Linked DNA regions of Homo sapiens: region 1 is linked to region 2. The links are contacts of gene promoters, found by promoter capture Hi-C in human tissues and cell types (Jung and others, 2019). All regions are on one chromosome and are shown on one strand. Each heading gives the region's core, a stretch centred on a gene start or on the middle of the fragment in contact. The rest is flanking DNA. Distances are from core to core; before and after follow the strand shown. Region 1 has its middle 9.2 kb from the start of AP5B1. Region 2 holds the start of KCNK7 (potassium two pore domain channel subfamily K member 7).

What was found. Contacts are between HindIII fragments. The study calls those that stand out against the background at their distance.
Region 1: a contact is called between a fragment that was not itself captured here and the fragment with the promoter of KCNK7 in region 2, in 3 of the 25 tissues and cell types used here (dorsolateral prefrontal cortex, lymphoblastoid cells and spleen).

What each region holds. Positions count from the first base shown.
Region 1 is chr11:65,769,875-65,773,607 of GRCh38, reverse strand. No RefSeq gene overlaps it. Among named protein-coding and RNA genes, the nearest start is that of AP5B1, 9.2 kb to the left of the region's middle. The HindIII fragment of the contact is 6,006 bases long and covers 1-3,733 here.
Region 2 is chr11:65,594,476-65,597,978 of GRCh38, reverse strand. KCNK7 (potassium two pore domain channel subfamily K member 7) reads left to right here and starts at 2,179. Exons shown (of 3, transcript NM_033347.2): 1 at 2,179-2,525. The coding sequence starts at 2,207. MAP3K11 (mitogen-activated protein kinase kinase kinase 11) reads left to right here. Exons shown (of 10, transcript NM_002419.4): 10 at 1-222. The HindIII fragment of the contact is 18,543 bases long and covers 1-3,503 here.

The sequences.
Region 1 (3,733 bases), core at 909-3,408, 180 kb before region 2:
GGTCTTGAACTCCTGACCTCAGGTGATCTGCCCGCCTCAGCCTCCCAAAGTGTTGGGATTACAGGCGTGAGCCACCGCACCCGGTCCAAGCACTGGCTTTGAGATAAGCAATATTAAAAACATTTTCAGCTTCATCAGATGCTGACTAACTGACCTCCAACCACTGTTCCACCAGCCATAACTACAGCTTTGGTTGGACAAGTGACTGATTTCAGTAACTTTTTCCTGACAAGGTGACTACCCATCATGGACTGGTTCTGGCTGGCTTACAGAGCTCCTGCACTTGCATGTCTTTGTGTCCTGAAAAGACCTTTTGCCATATAGGGCCTAATTATAATACATTTAAATGTTAAGTCTCCACCCCAAAGTGACCATGGGTTGTATGTTGCATGCATGTTTGTTCAATATGCATGTGTCAGAACCACTTTCATGAATATTCATAGCTCCTCATGTAACCTGTTGAATGTGTATGTTTAGTCAATCCATTGAGCATGAAGCTCCTACCCTAACCCCTCCTTCTTTGAAGTGCCTGTCTCTGGTCTTGGCTGGAGACATGCTTCCCAGCAGGTCTCACTCCCTTTCTGAGGCTGGAGTGCAGTGGTGCGATCATAGCTCACTACAACCTCAAACTCCTGGGCAAAAGTGATCCTCCTGCCTCAGCCTCCGGGGTGGCTAAGACTACAGGTGCATGCCACCACACCTGGCTAATTTGTAAAATTTTTTGTAGAGATGGGTTCTTACTATGTTGTCCAGGCTGGTTAAGGCCTCCTGGGTTCAAGTGATCCTCCTGCCTTGGCCTCCCAAAGTGCTGGGATTATAGGTGTGAGCCACCAGGCCCAGCCTAACCCTTTATAAGAAATAAAGTCTCCTCTCAAAATTTATAAATTGTGTATCTTTTCTTTTTTTCGTTAACAATTATCAATAATACACTTTATATGAAACAAGGGAAAAGATGGGGAAAGATATCGGTTAATCTCTATTTTACATGCAAGGAAGAAAGTATGAATCTTTTGTGCAATGAGTTACGAGGCCCTAATTAGGGTTCCTAGGTTTAGCAAATAAAAATATTATATAGGATGTGCATTTAAGTTTGAATTTTGGAGAAGCAATGAATTTTTTAGTTGTTAATAGGACATACTTACACTAAAAAACCAGTAGTTGTTTCTCCAAGGTTCAGATATAAGTGGTGGGTTTTTTTTGTTGTTTTTGTTTTTTTCTTTTTTTTTTGAGACAGTCTTGCTCTGTTGCCCAGTCTGGAGTGCAGTGGTGTGATCTTGGCTTACTGCAACCTCTGCCTCCTGGGTTCAGCCTATTCTTGTGCCTCAACCTCCTGAGTAGCTGAGATAACAGGCATGTGCCACCACACCTGGCTAATTCTTGTATTTTTAGTAAAGACAAGGTTTTGCCATGATGGCCAGGCTGGTCTCCAACTCCTGGCCTCAAGTGATCCACCCGCCTCAGCCTCCCAAGGTGCTGGGGTTACAGGTGTGAGCCACTGTGCCCGGGCTATAACCAGTGTTAAATCTCGTTTAGCCTAAAGCTGCCTCCTTACATATTTTAAGTTTGGCCTAAAGGTTTCTCTGTACATCGTAAACTATAACCTAAATGGACTTGTAAACAGACTGTAGCCAACGCTTGTGGCAATCACTGAGTTTTGGCTAATCAAAGGTGGCCAACTGTTCAAACTGTGTTCAGATAAGACAAACACCAATCTGTAACCAATCTGGCTGGTTTCTATATCTCACGTGTGTTTTCTGTACTTCATTTTCCTTTCTGTCCATAAATCTTCCACCACGTGGCTGCACTGGAGTCTCTGAGCCCACTCTGGCATGAGAGGCTGCCTGATTCTTGAATTGTTCTTTGCTCAGTTAAACACTGTGAAACTTACCTGAGCTAAAGTTTTCCTTTTAACACTGAGCATCCTGTATTTTATCTGTTAACCCTGGATTGATATTTACAACTTCTTTCTTCCATACCCATTCTATGTTCCTTTGGTTCTTTTACTTCATGAGGTGACCCAAACTTCATTCCTGAAGGGTCTGAGTCCTTGGTTATTCTGCTTGTATTGAGTCACTTGAGGCTTTCATTAACACTGTCACTGAACCTGGCAATCCTCAGAGATATTTCAGGGGATCCCCTGGATACGATGGACTCCTTGTCTCCGTTGTATGGCAGCAACAGCTTCTCGGTGGACAGTCAGGGTCAGTCTTCCTCTTAGAGCTCTTGGTCCTGAGGCAAAGCGACAGCGGGGCAGCCTTTACTTCCGGTTCAAAAAAAGCTATGCAGTGTCCATTCCTGGCGGCATTCTCCCTTGGACACTGAGGCCTCTGAACCTTCAATGGAATGGGAAGACAATATTTTGTCAGAGGCTTTCAGGTAGGAGGACAATGGTAGCACTGTAGGTCCCCAGTGTCGCCTAGAAAAACAATATGGAATGAGGAGAAAAGATAAAATTATGCAACAGCAAGCCCTCAGGATAACTTGGAGACAAGAATGCTCAAACTTAAAAAGAACAAGAAAAACAAATAACATAGAAATTACCTGGCCGGGCGTGGTGACTCACGTTTGTAATCCCAGCACTTTGGGAGGTTGAGGTGGACAGATTCCTTGAGCCCAGGAGTTCGAAACTAGCCTGGGCAACATGGTGAAAACCTGTCTTTACAAAAAATACAAAAATTAGCTGGGTGTGGTTGTGTGCACCTGCAGTTCTAGCTACTTGGGAGGCTGAGATATGAGGATTATTTGAGCCTAGGAGGTCCAGGCTGTACTGAGCTTTGATTGCACCACTGCACTCCAGCCTGGGTGACAGAGTGAGACAAGAAAGAAAGAAAAAAGAAAGAAAGAGAAGAGAAGAAAAGAAAGAAAAAGGAAAAACAAATGGCAGCTCAGACTTTCCTTCCCACGCACCCATTCCAGCCCCACCTGCCACAAGACTGGCTGAGGAAAACTGGGGCAAAGGAGAGGAGGGAGTTGTAATGGGGCTTAAGCTTGATCTAAGACCTCACCAAAAACACTAAGTACACCTTGAGCCTGAAAATGTTCAAAAGTGTCTGCAGTAGTGTCAGAGCTGGGACAATAGGTGGGAGGTTTAAAAGTACACGTGAGGCCAGGCACGGTGGCTCACGCCTGTAATCCCAGCACTTTGGGAGGCCAAGACGGGTGGATCACCTGAGGTCAGGAGTTCGAGACCAGCCTGGCCAACATGGTGAAATCCCATCTCTACTAAAAATACAAAATTAGTCAGGTATGGTGGCATGTGCCTGTAGTCCCAGCTACTCAGGAGGCTAAGGCAGGAGAATCGCTTGAACCGAGGAGGTGGAGGTTGCAGTGAGCTGAGACTGTGCCACTGCACTCCAGCCTGGATGACAGAGCGAGACTTTGTCTCAAAAAAAAGTTATACGTGAAATGTGAAGCCACAGTCTTGGAAACACATAGATCCTTGGGGAGCAACTACCCACAAAAGAAAGGAAAAGTGTCCTTTGGCATTTGGGTGTGAAGAGAGAGGCAAATGGAGAAGTTTAATTGCCCTCCAAGACAAAAAAAAAAAGAAGGCCCACAACCCCCACCCCTGCAAAAACAAATTCACTAAAGCATCTGGACTTCACAATGTTGCCAGAAGAGGGCGTGTTATCTAGGGATCTTGTAAAACACCCAATACCACAAAAATGAATAATGAAAAGATAGGTTCATACAGCTATTGCAAAATATCAGAAAATGAATTTCATCACATATG
Region 2 (3,503 bases), core at 930-3,429:
GTGCAGGGAAGAGGGGCCGGCCTCAGCTGTCACCAGCACTTTTGACCAAGTCCTGCTACTGCGGCCCCTGCCCTAGGGCTTAGAGCATGGACCTCCTGCCCTGGGGGTCATCTGGGGCCAGGGCTCTCTGGATGCCTTCCTGCTGCCCCAGCCAGGGTTGGAGTCTTAGCCTCGGGATCCAGTGAAGCCAGAAGCCAAATAAACTCAAAAGCTGTCTCCCCACATGTAGCCTGTCACCTTTCTTGGAGGTAACCAGGTGACCCAACCTATCATACAACCCTGGTGTCCTGATGCCCCAACAATAGGCAGTTGGATGCCTTGTACTGCATGCCTCTCCTGGGACCAAATCCACCAGCCTTGGTCAGTCATTCAAGGCTCTTCTCGGCCAGGTGCAGTGGCTCACTCCTGTCATCACAGCAGTTTGGGAGGCCGAGGCCGGCGGATCACATGAGGTCAGGAGTTCAACCTGGCCACATGGTGAAACCCCATCTCTACTAAAAATACAAAAATTAGCCAGGTGTGGTGGTGCATGCCTGTAGTCCCAGCTACTCTGGAGGCTGAGGCAGGAGAATTGCTTGAACCTGGAAGGTGGAGGTTGCAGTGAGCCAAAATCACGCCACTGCACTCCAGCCTGGGCAACAGAGCAAGACTCCGTCTCAAAAAAAAAAAAAACAAAAAACCATAGGCCGGGCATGGTGGCTCACGCCTGTAATCCCAGCACTTTGGGAGGCCGAGACGGACAGATCACAAGGTCAGGATTTTGAGACCAGCCTGGCCAATATGGTGAAACCCCGTCTCTACTGAAAAAAATATATATATATACAAAAATTAACCAGGCGTGGTGGCAGGTGCCTGTAGCCCCAGCTACTTGGGAGGCTGAGGCAGGAGAATAGCTTGAACCCGGGCGGCGAAGGTTGAGTGAGCCGAGATTGCACCACTGCACTCCAGCCTGGGCGACAGAGCGAGACTCCATCTCAAAAAAAAGAGTAGTAAGTTCCACCCACCTCCCAGTATGGTGACTTGCCATGGCATCTGGCACCCCTGACAGTTCTCTTCACACTGCCATGGGGGCTCTGGCACTCCCACACCATACCCTAGGGCAGGGTCCCTCCCTCGGCCTCTGTCCATTCTCTTCACACTGCCATGGGGGCTCTGGCACTCCCACACCATACCCTAGGGCTGGGTCCCTTCCTTGGCCTCTGTCCTCAGCCCCTCTGACGTTAGAGGAGTTGGAACCCAGGCTCCCCCTTCCCCTCTCCCAGGTGCCCCATGGCAGCCCAGACTCTGTGTCTGCAGTTCAGGGGCAGGGAGTCAGGAGGGCAGGCACAAAGCGTTCTCAGGAAGAACTGGCAATCGGGCGCAAGGGTATCATCTGCCCGGGTGCTCTGGGCACCCTGGAGTCCTCTCCCCACCTCCCACCCCCACCTGATCCTTCCCAGCTGCCACCATTCCTCTCCCACCACACCACCCAGGCCAAAATCACTCCATCCATGACGCCTACAGTAGCCCAGCGTAGGTCTCCCTGGACCACATTTATCCTCAAGGGCCTGTGTCCTTATCCCCCCTTCACCCCCAACTCTCCCCTGCCACAGCCAGCCCTCTGTTCCTCTCACACCCCAAGCTCATTCCTACCTTCACTGGCCTCTTACTCCCCAGCTGAAATATCACCTCCTTAGCAGAGCTTTCCCAGTGAGATAACCCCCCCGCTCCCCGCAGAGCTCTCCCATCACCCAGGGTGTTTCCTTCATGGAACTCATGACAATGTGAGGTTGCCATGTTTCTTTGCTAAGAGGTTTCTTGTGTAAACACCAGGAAGGAAAGGACCTGTGCCTGTCCTCTTCCCTAAGCACTTGAATGAATGAATGAATGAATGAATGTGGTATGGGTGCCTGAGTGAGCAGGACCTTGAATAAGTGTGAGGTCCTCTCTAGGCTTCAGCTTCCTCCGCCTCCTCCCCTCACCGCAGCCGCCTTCCTCCACCCATCCCCACCATCCCAGCTGCTGTGAAATGGGCAAATGTCTTGCCTCCAGGACCTGGGAAGGGTGATGCAGCTCACCTCCCTCCTGTTCACACCCCAGCCACCCCAGCCATCCCAGCCGGGTCCCAGCCACCCACACAGCACCTCCTCCTGGCCCCGCCCTGCCCAGCCCCTCCCAGGTGCCTGAGGTGGAGCCGCCAGTTCCCACAGCACCCCAGCGGCCTGCCATGGGGGGTCTAAGGCCCTGGTCCCGATACGGGCTCCTGGTTGTGGCCCACTTGCTGGCCCTGGGGCTTGGGGCTGTGGTGTTCCAGGCCCTGGAGGGGCCTCCTGCATGCAGGCTTCAGGCTGAGCTCAGGGCAGAGCTGGCAGCCTTCCAGGCAGAGCATAGGGCCTGCCTGCCACCCGGAGCTCTGGAAGAGCTGCTGGGCACTGCCCTGGCCACCCAGGCCCATGGGGTCTCCACCCTGGGCAACAGCTCAGAGGGCAGGACCTGGGACCTTCCCTCAGCCCTGCTCTTCGCTGCCAGCATCCTCACCACCACAGGTAAGAGAGCCAGGCAGCCAAGTCGGGGGGTGCGGCTCCAAGAGGCCATGGCTCCCTGGGGGCTTTGGGGTTCATGCAGCCCTTCCTTCAGCCCCAAAGAGCCAGATGGAGCCCAGGCCCTGTGAGGCCTGACATCACAGCTGGGGCTCCCCACCAACACACCCCAACTGGTGCCTCCACTTCAACTGCCAGGAAGGGTGTGGCCTCCCCAGTCCCACCCCAGGCACCCTTTGAGACCCAGGAGAGCTGCCCAGATGCCACAGCCTGTGGCCAGATAGGGGATACAATACAGTGGGATGGATTCTTGGATGGAAGCAAATAGAATGAACCTGGGAAGGACAGATCAGGACCATGGCCTCGGGTGGGGGAGTGAGGGAAGATAGGGGAGGAAGTCGGCATGAGATGCTTGTGGATCAGGAGGGCACAGACAGGGATGAGGGAGTCCTGCAGAGAAATCGCGTGGGCACAGGCCCAGGGAAAAGCAGCAATGAGACCCACAGCCCTGGGTTTTCGTATTTTTTGCCCCACAAAGTGTCTCAGTATTTTTTGAATTGGAATTTGTATTTCCAACTTTTTTTTTTTTTGAAACGGTGTCTGACCCTGTCACCCAGGCTGGGGTGCGGTGGTGCGATCTTGGCTCACTGCAACCTCCACCTCCCGGGTTCTAGCAATTCTCCTGCCTCAGCCTCCTGAGTAGCTGGGACTACAGGCATGCACCACCATGCCCGGCTAATTTTTGTGTTTTTAGTAGAGACGGGGTTTTGCCATGTTGGCCAGGCTGTTCTCAAACTCCTGACCTCAAGTGATCCACCTGCCTCAGCCTCCCAAAGTGTTGGGATTACAGGTGTGAGCCACTGTGCCCAGCTCATATTTCCAACTTCTTTTGGAAAATCAGGAAACCCACTCACACTGAGCCAGAATCCCTGCAAGGCAACATCCTGACTGGAGCAGAATGGGGCCTGCCCTTTGGATACAGCT